4 separate regions of the Homo sapiens genome follow, and all the other regions are linked to region 2. The links are contacts of gene promoters, found by promoter capture Hi-C in human tissues and cell types (Jung and others, 2019). All regions are on one chromosome and are shown on one strand. Each heading gives the region's core, a stretch centred on a gene start or on the middle of the fragment in contact. The rest is flanking DNA. Distances are from core to core; before and after follow the strand shown. Region 1 has its middle 27 kb from the start of FNDC1. Region 2 holds the start of EZR (ezrin). Region 3 overlaps LOC112267968. Region 4 holds the start of TULP4 (TUB like protein 4).

Region 1 (3,593 bases), core at 392-2,891, 320 kb after region 2:
TGGGCCCTCAAATACCTGTAAAGTGAATTTCAGACAAAGCTAGTTTTCCATGGTGCATCCTGCCACGTGCCAACTGATGTTCGGTGTTATTGACAATCACTATCTGCATTGTGTGACATTCTTGTGGTCTGTCTATTTGATAAATTTTAAGCTTAAAGCCATTGTTCAAAAAGTCACACTATTGCTGACATTCAATGGTAAAGAATCTCAGTGAACCCAAGGAGTGCACATGCTTGTTTAAAGTTTTTTAAAAAGCACTTTCTTCTGTTCACTCTGTTGGCCCTGTGTACACAGCCACTAAGTCATTGGCACCCATTCCCTCCCACACCTGCCCTCAGAGCCCCTTGCATCCCCTGTGCAGTCAATTGGAGGGTGCTGGACTTCCTGGTCAATGCCCAGGCTCTTCTCAGTTTCCCTTGAGCCCCCTCATCAGTTTCTTGCACTCCCTTACCCTTTCTAAAGGACTTCCCTCGGGCTGGGGGAGCAGCAGGGAGCTCAGCTCTTTGGAGCCCAGCCCCTGCCTCCTGAGGGGCTACCCTGAGCTTTACACCATAGGGCTCCTCTGCAGGGTCAGCTGGAGATGCTCTCTGTGGGGCCTTCACTAGGCCTCCTCCTCCTTCCCATCCTGCCTTTGTCACTCCCTTCCTCATCTGCCCTGGGAGTGCTGGTGTCATAATCAATAAATCACCTACACACAGATTATATTAGTCCATCTCACGCTGCTATGAAGAACTGCCCAAGACTGGGTAATTTATGAAGGAAAGAGGTTTAATTGACTCACAGTTCTGCAGGGCTGGGGAGGCCTCAGGAAACTTACAACCATGGTGGAAGGGGAAGCAAACATGTCCTTCCTCACATGGTGGCAGGAAGGAGAAGTGCCGAACAAAAGGGGAAAAGTCCCTTATGAAACCGTCAGAGCTCGTGAGAACTTACGCACTATCACAAGAGCAGCAGCTTGGGGGTAACTGCCCCTGTGATTCAGTGATTCAGTGACCTCCCACTGCGTTCCTCCCATGACACATGGGGATTATAGGAACTACAATTCAAGGTGAGATTTGGGTAGGGACACAGCCAAACCATATCACAAATCGTTATCTTAGGGTCTACTTCCGGGAATTCTAACTTCAGATATGGGCCCTTTGTATGGTATGAACCCTAAGACATGTCTCAGTAGAGGTCGTCCACACAATATTATTAGCAACAGTGAGAGTGTCTGGGTGGGAACTCTGTTAGCAGCAAGGCCATGTAGGAACATAAGGCCCAGCTGAGGTCCTGGAGGGAATCCAACTCTTGCCCAAACCTGCAAAACATACAGATGACAAAGTTTAATAATGTGTGGGGCAGGAAATTAGTTGGGACCTATTAGCCCATGTGTCATCTTCAGGTCCTCCTTGCCACTTGACCTCTCCCATACAGCATTCAAGTAGCAGAATAGGGTGGAGACAGGCTGTGTGCTGGGTCCGGCCTCTCTGAACCTCTCTGAGCCAGGTACCCCATGGGCTGCTGGAGCTGCCAAAAGGTCCCTATGTCCTCACGTGTGGCACAGAAGTCATGAGGACAGCTGCTGCGTACAAAGGATGATGTAGTCAGGAACATGAGGGGCTTGAGTGGACAGAGGAAATGAGGGTCTGGCGGTACCTTCCCCAAAGCCTCTGCACCCTCTAGGTGTCCTAGAACTTAGACACAGCTCCAGGGAAAGGAGAGGCGAGACCTTGAGTTGAGTGAGATTCTTCTCCCTCATCCTGGTAGGATGGGGTATTAAAATAGAAATCCAGCTGAGGTACAGAAAATAAAGAAAGTTCTATTTCCTGCATCCATGCATTGGAGCACTGGGATCCATATGCACTATAAGTACAGGGGCACCTACCACATCCATGGTGCAGAATACAGCTGTACGGTATTTGACATATTAAACTTTTATGGGTTCAGGGAGTTTCTGCAATGCATGTGTATTCTTGTGTAAGGTCCCAAATATCTTAGACCTTCAGGAAAGTAAAGAAGTTGGTTAAACCAATACATAAAAAAACCCCATGCAAAAATCATGCTCTCACTTTATGCTTTGCTTTGACTTGCTTCACTTTTAAGCTTGCCCAGAGGCCAAGTAATCCCTGATTCAAGCCTGGTTAGAAGTAATCAGAAGAGTTTTGTTTAACAAAGCAAAGAGAAGTCAGCTCTTCAAAGCAAAACGTTCAAGGGATTTAATTTTTATGAACCAAATGTATCATATTTACTGAGTCCCTAATCTGGCCCAGACACTGAGGTTGGCGCCTTGGCCTCTGATAAAGATAAACAAGGGTAGGGGACCAGTTTGCCCTCTAGATCCTCTTTTTGTCTTTCCTCCACAGTAACTCTTGAAAGACGGGTGCATCAGACCATTGTTCCTTAAGGGACTGCTGTTTCTTTTCCTATTTATAACACGGGGAGGATGATATTTGCCTCAGTAATTTTGAAGGAAAGAGAAAATAAATGAATCATTTTAAAGACTTGGCTTACACAGAGCATGACCTTAGAAAGCCAATTCTTTTATGATTGATAATGTTGGCAATGATATTGGCAATGATAATGTTGACAAGCCCCTTGTATCAGTCCGGGTTCAGTCAGAGAAGCAGAACCACTGAGGGAAATAGACATATCTCTATCTATCAATTATCTATCTATCTATTGATCCATCGATCCATCCATCACTTATCTATTATCTATCTTCTATCTATCATCTAGCTATTGATATATATTCCACACATGAAAACACATACTCACAAACACACACACAAATATTAAGGGCTTTGTTATAGACACTTGACTCTACACAATTCTGGGAGCTGGTTGAGAGGTCCCTGCCTTAGGGCTGTTGCTTTCATGTCTGATGCTGAAGGTTGAAGAGTGCAGGGCAGGCAGAGAGGAAAGAAAGATGGATGTAAGTCTTGGAATCCAAGAACAAACTCAGAGCAGAGCAGGACACTGGAAGCTGTGTCCACTGTCATTGTTCTGACCTCAATGGCTTGGGTGTTCTGCAAAAGCTGGACCTTTGGTAGGAGCTAGGAGCTAGATACAAGCACATCTGGCCCAAGAATCAGAGAGGCTGGAGAGGAAATCCCAGGAAGGAGGCACAGCTGCAGGCCTGGTGGCCACCCCTTCATGCCAGTGAGGGAGCCAGCATTTAAGTGACAATGTGCAAGCCACACATGGCTGTTATTTCCTTTCTCCCTCCAAATCTTGCACAATGATCACTTTTGTGGCCACCCTAACTAGAAACTTCCAGCAAGGATGTAGTAGCTGTCCGTTCTCACACTGCTAATAAAGACATACCTGAGACTGGGTAATTTATAAAGAAAAGAGGCTTAATTGACTCATAGTTTTGCATGGCTGGGGAGGCCTCAGGAAACTTACAATCATGGTGAAGGGGAAGCAAACGCTTCCTTCTTCACGTGGCAGTAGGGGAGAGAAAGAGAGCCAAGTGAAGGGGGAAGCCCCTTATAAAACCATCAGAACTCATGAGAACTCACTATCATGAGAATAGTATGGGGGAAACTGCCCCCTTGATTCAATTATCTCCATCTGATCCCGCCCCTGACACATGGGGATTATTGTAATTC
Region 2 (3,689 bases), core at 481-2,980:
AATATCTCCCCAGTTGGATCTGGGGCGCCTGTGGTTTCGGACCCTTAGGAGCTCTGAGAACTGGTGTGTGTGGTCGGAAGCCATCTGAGTCTCCCTGTGATTTGGACTTTTTAAGAAACTTCTAAGTTGTATTACTATACCCTTTAAAAACAGACGGAAGCAGTGTAAAAAGGCCTCTAGTTTTTAGAAAAGACCGTAACTACTGGGGAGGGGGCTCACAAAGAAAAAGACTGCAGAGAAAAGCATCAAAATGGTGTTTTCCTAACGCTCCACAAAAGGGTCAACAAGTAACAAAGAGCGGCGAAAACCTCCTCCTATTCCTATCGTCTTCTGCGTGTGAGAAGAACCCTGTTCCCCAGGAACTGCCCCAACACCTCGAGCAGGTGCCTCCCCTCTCCAATGAAGCCTCTCCCGTCCGCCCGGCCCAGAAACTGGGCAACTTACTGGTTTCGGCATTTTCGGTTTCTGGTGAGTATCCTCGATCCCCGAAAACACGACTATCCAGCAGCAGCGAAGACGCTGTCCCAACCTGGAGTCAGAGCAGAACCCTTAGAGCGCCCGCCCGCCCTGCCTCGTCCTCCTGCCGCGCCCGACACTCGGCGCCCGCAGCGCGCTGCCGCTTAAGAACCGGCCAGCCCGGGCCCGGGTGAGTCAGCGCCCCGCCCAGCACTGCGGGCATGGGGAGGGGGCACGGGCGGGGCGGGGCCGGGCCGGGCCCCCGGCGAGGAGGCGCCCGAGAGCGGGGGCGCGCGCCCAAGGGGCAGCCGGCGGGCACTGGAGGTGCCCCCCAGTTGGGGGTGGGTCCGAGGAGAGGGGGTGCGCACCCAGGGGACCCCCAGCATGAAGGGGCTGGTGGGGGGCGCAGGCCCGGGAGAGAGAGGGCAGGGGGAACACTCAGTGGGGAGGATCGGGGGGAGGGGGCGCGGGCCCCGGGGAACACTCGGCCAGGAGGGTCAGGGGAGAGAGCGCCGGCCGGGCGGGGAGGGGTCTGGGGGACACTCGAGGTGCACCCAGCGGAGAGAGGCGGAGAAGAGGGGGCGCGGGCCCAGGGATACCCGGCGGGGAAAGGCCCGGGGAGAGGGAGCGCGCGCCTGGGAGAGAGAGGGCGAGGGGCAGGAGGAACACCTAGGAGGAAGGAGTCCCGGGACAGCCAGCGCGAGCCCGCGGGGCACCCGACAGGGAGGGGTCAGGGGAGAGGGGGCACAGGGCGGGCGGGGGGGCACTCGCTGGGGAGGGATCCGTGGAGAGGGGGCGCGGGCTCGGGGTCCGCCGAGGAACTTCCCGGGGCTGCCAGGAAGCCCGTGAGAAGCCGAGCACTCGGCAAGTTTCACTTTGTGTAGCAACCGTTGCCCCGCGGCTGCAGTCACAACCGTCAAGCCTTTGAGAAACTCTTTCAAAAACTGCAACCGCTCGGGAGCCGCCGAGGGACGGCGCCCAGGCACCCAGGCTCCGCGTTTCCTTCGGGAGAGACCTGAGGGGACCCGGCGCCGAGGGGAAGGTCGCGGGGCCGCGGGCCGGCTCAGCTCCACCTGCCCCGGGGGTGCCGGGCGAGAACCCCGCGCCGCGCCCCCTAGGCTGCCCGCCGCACCTGCCGCCGAACCCCGCCGCCCGCCCGGGCCCTCCACCAGGAACCCCCCGCCCAGAACCCCCGTCCCGACCCCGGCCGCCGCACGCCTCACCCGGCGCCTGCAGTGCTCCGTGTGCTCCCCGCCGCCCTTGCGTCCGCCGAGTGCGCTCGCTGCCCGCGCTCCCAAAAGCCCCGGCGGGGCGGGTCCCGGGACCACGCCCCTTCCCGCCCAGCTCCCGACCTGTGAGGTGCGCCCCCCGCAAGATGGCGGCAGCCGGGCCTCGGGCTGGGTGGGGGCGGAACTTGGCGGAAGTGCGCGCTACTCCCCTCGCAGATGCAAGTGGGGAGGCTGTTTGTCCCACAGCGGGCAGGGGGAAGTCAGGAAAACGTAAATAAATCTGGAGGGGCGGACGGCTTGGGGGAATCGCTGGACCGCTTGGGGCCGGGACCGGGGGCCAGTTCCGAGGCCTCGGCCCTGGGGCGGCTGCACCTGGCCCCGAGTCTCGGTGCACGTGGCCGGCCCAGCCGCCGCCTTTCCGAAGCTCTGGTTAAGTGGCACGTTTGTGGCCTCTTTTGACGTGACTGGCAAAAAGCTCCATGGGATTTCTCTGAAATTCTAGGAATTAAGTTTTTTTGTTTGTTTTTTTGCTAATGGTTCTCAACAAATTTTTAAGACACACAAAACACATACTTTGGGGGCCAGTAGAATTTGCTGCGGGAGAGCTCACTCTAGAAGGGGTTCTCAACGTCTGGCTTCCAGACGAGCAGCAACAGCATTCACTGGGAACTTGCATAAGTGGAAATTAGGTGTTGCTCAGCCTTAGGATTCAGAAACTCTAGGGCTGAGCCCAGCAATCAGTGTGTTACAAGCCCTTCGGGTGATTGTGATGTTGGCTAAAGGTTGAGACCAGAGCTTCTCCTGAATTCCTCTCCTGGGTTTACTCCTCCCTTTCTGCTTTTAGTTTTCTTGTTTGTAAAGCGGCATAATTATGGCACCTGTATCAGAGGGTTCTAATGAGGATAATGAGTTAGTACATGTACGATGCCTGGAACAGTACCTGACACTTAGTAAGCACTTAAATCTATCCTGGTAGAAAGAGAAACCAATGACTTTGGGCGAAGTTCCAAACTCTGTTTCCCAATTTGTTGAGTGAACATACTAGTAGCCCCACCTACATAGACTTGTAAGGATTAAATGAGATCGTGCATGTGGAATGCTTAACTCGTGCTAGCCTCATAGTAATTGATGCTTAACCTGTCTTCCTAGGGACACACTGCTGTTTGGGCAACCCTTTGTCAGGGCCTGTTATCTCCCACTTGCAGATCCAGGGCATTTCAGAGGTCAGAGAGAGGAGGGAGGCCTCTTCTGAGATTTTGACCTCTATTCAGGTAAGTGTATTCCCTCTGAAAGACTGAACTTTTCTTTCCCTTTTTTTTTTAGACGGAGTTTTGCTCTTCTTGCCCAGGCTGGAGTGCATTGGCGCAATCTCAGCTCATTGCAACCTCCATCTCCCAGGTTCAAGCAATTCTCCTGCCTCAGCCTCTTGAGTAGCTGGGATTACAGACACCCGCCACCAAGCCCAGCTAAATTTTTGTATTTTTAGTAGAGACGGGGTTTCACCATGTTGGCCAGGCTGGTTTTGAACTCCTGACCTCAGGTGATCTGCTCACCTCGGCCTCCCAAAGTGCTAGGATTACAGGCGTGAGCCATCACTCCTGGCCTGAATTTCTTTTTTATTAAAATGAAGTTATAGGCCGGGCGCTGTGGCTCATGCCTGTAATCCCAGCACTTTGGGAGGCCGAGGCAGGTGGAACACCTGAGGTCAGGAGTTCAAGACCAGCCTGACCAACATGGAGAAACCCCGTCTCTACTAAAAATACAGAATTAGCTGGGTGTGGTGGCGCACGCCTGTAGTCCCAGCTACTCGGGAAGCTGAGGCAGGAGAATGGTGTGAACCCGGGAGGCAGAGCTTGCAGTGAGCTAAGATCGCACCATTGCACTCCAGCCTGGGCAACAAGAGTGAAACTCCGTCTCAAAAATAAATAAATAAATAAATAAAATGAAGATATAATGGTAACTGCAGTAGAAAGAAAACTATGAAAGATATTTAAATTACCTGCA
Region 3 (3,808 bases), core at 1,269-3,768, 260 kb after region 2:
CACCCTCTTTATAGTTCACAAGAATAACCTTAACACCATCTGAATGGAAACACATAGGATTCCCGTGGAGGTGAGCCAGGTCTCCTCGATTCTCCAGGGCCATCTGGTCATGCTGTCAGTGAATTAGTCTCAGGGATGCTGATATCCAGCCTGGGGAAAGACAAAGCTGCCTTTATATAGAATCACTTCTTTGGCTCTCTGCAAACAGAGACCCTGCTCTGTCAGACTTAATTGGGGTTGGTGTATCATGATGATTTCCTATCTTCCTTTGTGATAAATATGTAAACTATAAAATGTCCCCCTGGGGTGCAGAGCTGTCACAGACTCTCGGTTTATATGGTCTGTCTCAGAAGATGGGAGAGTTTATTGCTTGCTATGGGCATAAAAGCACACCCCATACTCCTTGTTGAAATTGGAGTCTTCCAGCCCCTGCAGACACACACCCAAATGTTCTTACCTGCCATGCCTAAGGACTCCCTAAACCCAGGCAGAGAACCTTTTGGAAACCCTCTATGAAACAGTAGCTTCCTCGCTGACTTAGTCAACTTTCTATGCCTCTGGATTCGAACTGGATCCATTTCACCTGCCTTCTCCAGTCTACTTTGAAGGGGTGTAGATTTTCTTTTTGTTTAGTTTAGTTTAGTTTTGTTTTGTTTCTGACCCACAGCGCCTACTTGCCACTTCCTAAAGGAACTGCTGTTCTGGGTCTGGGCTTGTTGCCAGGCCCTTCCTGGGTGATGGGAGTCCTGCTCTGTCACCCCAGCTCTGTCCTGTGGGGCTGCTTGCATCCAAGTGCAATACTCTCTCTGCTCTGTTTGTGCCTAGCATAAGGCACATATCGCCTGCAATTCAAGCTTTAAGAGCCCGGGAATGTTTTACTACGTCTCTTCTCTCTTCAACAGAGCCTGTTCCATCAGCCGGGGTCCTGGGATGAAGGTAACGTGGAGCAGAGTTGCAGCTGATCCACGATGTGTTAGCGCAAGCAAGAAATAAACTTTTGTGATCCTAAGCCACGGGGGTTTTTAAGTTGTTTGTTAGAGCATGACCTATCCTATCCTGACTGCTGTACAAAATTAAGCAATTTCTGTTTGGCAGGATTTCCCAGACCCTCCGGAAGGCTGCTGTGCTGTGTCAATCTTTAAAATGGGAATGAGGTATATCATTTTTCCCAGTCTTAATGCCCAAGACTTTCTTAATGAAATCATCTACTGGGACTTGAACTGCTGTTCCAAAGAAGTTAATGGGATAAATGGCTACGTGTGTTCTGTGCATGAGTCATCTTCTTCCAATGAGATTGAAAGCCCCTCAGTGGAGTAGCATAGCATCCAACACAGAGTTCAATTCAACAAACTTGTTGATAAAAAAATCTCATCCTTTCCTGCCACCTCCATGCCCCACCCCATGCTGAAAGATTTATTTGTAATACCTGTTTCTTGCTTCGTGAACCAAGTTAAGCAGTCAGTGCATCCTGCTCATGTCATATGAGGCCCTGTCTCGCCCATGGAACTACCACTGACTTCTTTTTATTTACTTATTTTTGAGACAGAGTCTTGCTCTGTCACCCAGGCTGGAGGACAGTGGTGTGATCTTGGCTCACTGCAACCTCCACCTCCTGCGTTCAAGTGATCTTTCCACCTCAGCCTCCCGAGTAACTGGGACTACAGGTGTGCACCACCACACCTGGCTAATTTTTTTGTATTTTTAGTAGAGAGATGGTTTCACCATGTTGGCTAGCTGGTCTCGAATTCCCGACCTCAAGTGATCTGCCTACCTCGGCCTCCCAAAGTGTTGGGATTACAGGCGTGAGTCACCATGTCTGGCCACTACTACTGACTTCTACAAGTGCTCCCTTCTGGGGCAGCGCCTGGGAGGCAAAGAGCTGTGTGAGAAGCTTATTTCCAGAAGAGGTGATGAAGGTAAATCAATAAGATTCCGATGCTGTAAACTGGTCAAGTGTCACTCTGCAGCAGACATGCAGTATTAAAGGCTTTGCTAAAAAGAAACCTTTGCCACGTCTGCAGCTATTAGAAAACTTTTTGAATGTCTTCAAAGTAGGATCGCGACAATAGTTTCTTAAAAGGTGTGGTTGTTGGGGAGAAAAGAGAGGCTGCCATGAAGTCCTTTTCTTCTCAAAAGCAATTGCAGGAGAGATCCCTGTGTTCAGAAGAGAAGGGAAGGTGTGGATGGGAAACGCTTTGGTCTGCAGTTGATGTTAATCGAGGCTCTTCTGGAACCAGTCAGAAGCTGCCAGTGCCTGTGATTTCCCCAGCCCTCAGTGCTGCGAGCGAGGCGGCCCGTGAGTAATAGCAGCGCAGCCCACTCTGCAGTATGTGGGAGGACAATAAAGGTCAAACCACAGAGTGGGCTTCCAGCTGCCAGCACGGTGGCCTCTGTCCTTTCACTGCGAGGGGGCTTGGGAGGCTCGGGGAGGAAAGGGAAGGCTGGGTGTTAACGTGAGGTCCTGTCATGGTTTCCGTGGTAAACCATGGGTTTTCCAGGTCTTCAGATTCCAGGCCCACCGCCCTGTGGTTGCCATCTGCCAGCCCCTCTGGACCAGATCAAGTGAAGTCTCTCTCCCAGTACCCTTCTAGTGAGGAAGCAGACATCTGGCTCCTTATCATTGAAGAGAGAAAGCACTTATGAAATTGGATTTTGATTTGTGAGAGATTCAGGAACAACAGAATAATAAAACTAGAGATCAGTGGATCCAGGCGCTTTTTAAAAAAGTCGGCATTCTGGGGCACTTTCATTGTGCCTGGTACTGTGATAAAGATTTTTCAATAACTATTTTGTTTTGTTTTGTTTTTTGAGACGAGTTCTCACTCTGTCTCCCAGGCTGGAGTGCAGTAGTGCAATCATGGCTCACTGCAGCATCGAACTCCTGGGCTCAAGCAATCCTCCTGCCTCAGCCTCCTGAGTAGCTGGGACTAGAGGACTGAGCTACCAGGCCTCGCTATTTTTTTTTCTTTTGTAGATACAGGGTTTTGCTGTGTTGACCAGGCTGGTTTTAAACTCCTGGGCTCAAGCAATCCTCCTGCCTTGACCTCCCAAAGTGCTGGGATTACAGGTGTGAACCACCACACTCAGCCTAATAACTGTCTTTTCTAATCTCCCTGTCACCACTATGCTGTGGTACTATTACTATCCACATTTTACAGAGGACGAAACTGGCATCTAGAAGCTTAAGACCCCCATAGACAGCTGGGACCAAATTCAAGTTCAGCTAAATCACCAGCCTGCTCTCTATCATGCTGCTGCCCTGTATGGCCATTTTGGAAATTTCTGGCTAAAATAGCTACTGGATAGAAATGAACTACTACTATTGGTTCAGCATTTCTTCATTTATCCAGCGAACTTCTGTTGAGACCCTGCTGGTGAGGGCCCAAGGTGGATAAGGTTTGCCCCATCTGGAAGTCACCTGGGCTGGCTCAATTAGAGGGAGGCAATGCCAAAGGCAGTGGGAACCTTGAGGAAGGAACAACTCACTCTACCTGCGGCAGCTGGAGTGGACTTCCATGACATGGTGACATTGACGCTGAAGTGGGCTATCCCAAAGAGGAGAAAAAGGGGCAAGAGACTTGGAGAAGACTCAGCAAGGTGACCCAGGAATGGGAGGCGTGGGGAGTTTGGGAAACTCCAAGTATTTCCCTGCACAATGGGAGGAGAGGGAGGAAGTAGGAGAGAGTAAACCTTCTTAGTGCCACACTAGCTGGAGGGGCTTCATAAGAAGGCAGGTGATGTTACTGATGTTTTATTGAGATGATGTTTGCCATTGAGGATTGGAAGAGATGGGAGTGAGGTGAGGCGG
Region 4 (3,416 bases), core at 54-2,553, 510 kb before region 2:
GTTCTCAAAGCCTGGTTCCCTGCCCAGCAGCATTAGCATCTCTTGGGAGCTTATTAGAAATGCGAACACCTGGGCCCTTCCCTTCCCTTTCAGTGTCCAGTTCCTGTGGGATGGGGCTGGGCCGCTTCAGCTGCCCCAGGAGACTGAGAGAGTCTGCTGAATTTGAGAAAGTCCACTCTGCTTTCTGGAAGGACTGGCGGGGCGGGAGGGCAGGGAGGATGAGTAAGTTAGGGACAGAGTGTTCTCGTGTTTGTAGAGGATGTGATGCAGCCTGGACTTCAGGCAGTAGGAAGAAGATGGAATGGATTTGCTAGAGACAGATTCTCTAGAACTTTATTGCTGGTAGACCACATAAAAGCTTAGAAAACAGCTGCGCTTTGCTCCGAGACCTGCCAGCCATCAGGGACGAATGAGTTTTAAAGGCCCTTACTGCTTTGTGTCTTGAGGGAATATCTTTTATTAATCGTGAAAAAATCAATCCAGATAACTTGCCTGAGTCATTTCAGTCTCCTTTTTGAGGATGCCTGCTTAAACAGCGACCATGGTCTCTGGAGGGGTAGAGTCTCACATTCGGAGTTCAGTCTCTTAGAAAGTACAGTTCAGTGTGGAAGAATGGCAGTTATGATTTCATTCAGATGTGCCCAGCTGCTGACAAATTGAATACAACGATCAGTGGCAGGCAGAACTCTCATTTGTTGTGTGTTGTCTTGAGTCTGGTGAGGTGTATCCTTTCACTATTGGATTTTACCATTCAGTGCAGTCAGTAGCTCCATTTGATGTAAGTGTAAAGATGGGTCTCTCATTTCAGTTTCAGCAATTATTCTTAAAACCTTTATTTTCCAGTGTTTTAAAGTTTTTAAATTTTATATCTTTTTTTTTTTTTAAACAGATTTGTAAGACTCCAGGGCCTCCCAGCCGTGAATAATCTGATGGTTCCTGAAATGACTGGGGAAGCAGACGCTTCGTATGGCAGTTGAAGAGTGTGTGTCTATGTGCATTTAAAACCTTCTTTCTGTACTTACACATTCACACGGGAAGACAGGCTCATTCTTGTGCACACTTGAGAGTTTTACAACTGATGAAAATTAATTTAAGAATCAGATGGAGCAACTTGACACCAGTGGGCTCAGGAGCCCGGGGAGAAAAATACATCACTAATGGCCAGTTTTCCATATGGTCTGCACGGGTAAAGAAAGTCTGCAAAAAGAAGAAAAAAAAATTTGCGCAGATTAAACCACAAAAATATTCTCCAGTTTAAAGAAGGAACTAAGTGAGAAGGTGACTGAGAAAGAAGTGTGATTTCAAACATTGCAGCGGCTCACACAGTGTTTGTTGCACTTTATTTTTCAGTGGGTTTGGTGATTTGGACGGATTAAAATTCTAGACTGAAAAGTAACTCCTACTGTGGTTATGGCTAGAGGAAAGCAAGTTCAAGTATGATGGGACAAGTTTGAATAATGAACTGATTCCTTTGCCTATCTTAATTAACTGTATTTGAGAAATTTTAATTTATTATTCCCCCCCTTTTTTCCTGCATCTATAGGATAATATTGTAAAATAGCAATTGAAACCAATAATTATTAAATAAATATCAAGGAAAATCCAAGCAAAGCTTTCTTTTTGTTGGACTAGTGGTGTGGTGTTTGGAGACAGTCTCTGAATGTGAACAGGAAAGCACCCATCAGCAAAACACTATCACTCTCTAGGGAGACAGCTGGGGGAATCTGACTCTGGCTTCTGCTTTTGTTTTAAGGGATTAACTTCCCTGTCAAGTCCAAGAAGACTTGCGTATGAGAAGATTACCTGATGGACTTAATTCTAAGATTAGCTTTTTTCATCAAGATGGAAAAAGATCTTTAGGAGCAGAAAAGGGGAGTGCTAACTGGGGGAGCGAGAAGGGAGACGAGCAAAAGAAACAAAATCTTGCCACGTGGCTCTGTTTTGTCAGCAAGAGGATTTAAGACTCACCCAGGGCAAACACTGGGACCACTGTAAGAGCGCTGGAACATTCTGCCTCTTGAGTGAAGGGGCCTTCTTTCTAGCCTCTATGGCACTGAGGGGTGCGCCGGCTGGTGGAGGAGCAGTCCGATGGAGCCCTGCGTTCCCCGGGGACACAGGGCCAAGCTTTGAGGTGGAAAGTTTCTGGTTCTGAAACAACAAGGAGAGAGTCTGTTTTTCTTCCTAAAATTTGGACTCTTGTCTGCACAAACTCTGGTCTGTTTTGCACGGTTTGTGTGCCTTTTTTTCCCTTTATGCAATCTTTTTCAGCTTTAGCAGCAGAAATTTGTCTAGTTCAGGAAACATGCTAGAGGGTGGCTTCAGAAGGAAGATGATCCTGTGTATTCTGTCTCTGCATCCGAACTTTTGAAGAGAAAAATTCGAGCTAGAGGGATTCTTAAAGCCTTAAGTTACTTGAAATCTATGTATTTGCAACCCTTTGTCTCTGGAATCATATTACACTAAACTGGAATCTCAGGCTGAATGAGAATAACCAAGTGGAGTAAAAAGAAGAAAACCGTTTCTTGATCACCACTTAATTAACGATGCTCTTTCTCCAAAGGATCAGCACGTTCTTCCTCTGAGAACTTGAAAATACAAATGGACCCCATGTTTTTTTAAGCATTACCTTTTCTTAGAAGACTGCCATCATCTTTTATAGAGGAATTTTTTCACTATGCATTCGGTGGATCTTTATAAAATACTGACCTTCTAATTAGATTCAGGTCAGTCTTAATTAAAGGGGGAAAAAAGCAACGCAAGCCAACCACAAAAACACATATACCAATGAAAGAAATTGGTTTAAATTTCACAGCATTAACATTACTTTTTAAGTAAAACAGTTCATTGAAGAAAGTATGTATGCAGCAGTGGAACATGGGCCTGTGCTTTGCAGCGATTCCAACATCCTGTGCCTGTCCTGGAAGGGGCGTGTCCCCAAGAGTGAGAAGGAGAAGCCTGTGTGCAGGAGACGCTACTATGAGGAAGGCTGGCTGGCCACGGGCAACGGGCGAGGAGTGGTTGGGGTGACTTTCACCTCTAGTCACTGTCGCAGGGACAGGAGTACTCCACAGAGGATAAATTTCAACCTCCGGGGCCACAATAGCGAGGTGAGCTGTGGTTTTGTTTCACTTTTTGGTCACTTCCAGTGGTGTTTTTGAGCCCCTTGTGGACTTGAAACTTCCTTCATTTCAGTTTCATAGACTTGCTGCCTAGTGAGACTTCCCATGCTGTGAGTTCTGTCTCTTATTCTCTGGCAGAAAAGATGCTAAGATGGACATAGTTCACAGTAGGCTGCGCCTCCCCAGGTGGGTCAGTTGTCCCTGGCACCCCTGCTGTCCTCTCCCTGCACTGTCTCTCTTAGAGGGTCCGGGCAGTGGGAAGACGCCCAGCAGTAGGGAGGCCAGGGCGCTTTCTAA

Evidence for each region. Contacts are between HindIII fragments. The study calls those that stand out against the background at their distance.
Region 1: a contact is called between a fragment that was not itself captured here and the fragment with the promoter of EZR in region 2, in 1 of the 25 tissues and cell types used here (hippocampus).
Region 3: a contact is called between a fragment that was not itself captured here and the fragment with the promoter of EZR in region 2, in 1 of the 25 tissues and cell types used here (dorsolateral prefrontal cortex).
Region 4: the fragment with the promoter of TULP4 here is called in contact with the fragment with the promoter of EZR in region 2 in 1 of the 25 tissues and cell types used here (adrenal gland).

Annotation. Positions count from the first base shown.
Region 1 is chr6:159,140,621-159,144,213 of GRCh38, forward strand. No RefSeq gene overlaps it. Among named protein-coding and RNA genes, the nearest start is that of FNDC1, 27 kb to the right of the region's middle. The HindIII fragment of the contact is 6,118 bases long and covers 1-3,593 here.
Region 2 is chr6:158,817,638-158,821,326 of GRCh38, forward strand. It overlaps EZR (ezrin), which reads right to left and starts at 1,731. Exons shown (of 14, transcript NM_001111077.2): 1 at 1,680-1,731; 2 at 445-529. The coding sequence starts at 456. EZR-AS1 (EZR antisense RNA 1) reads left to right here and starts at 342. Exons shown (of 3, transcript NR_102425.1): 1 at 342-468; 2 at 2,835-2,956. RefSeq lists an enhancer at 315-364 and silencers at 575-774, 915-1,904, 1,965-2,014. The HindIII fragment of the contact is 16,325 bases long and covers 1-3,689 here.
Region 3 is chr6:159,074,978-159,078,785 of GRCh38, forward strand. All of the region lies in intron 3 of LOC112267968, which reads right to left. Among named protein-coding and RNA genes, the nearest start is that of TAGAP, 32 kb to the left of the region's middle. The HindIII fragment of the contact is 4,721 bases long and covers 159-3,808 here.
Region 4 is chr6:158,311,162-158,314,577 of GRCh38, forward strand. It overlaps TULP4 (TUB like protein 4), which reads left to right and starts at 1,304. Exons shown (of 14, transcript NM_020245.5): 1 at 1,304-3,107. The coding sequence starts at 2,856. RefSeq lists an enhancer at 2,928-3,007. The HindIII fragment of the contact is 2,154 bases long and covers 1-1,868 here.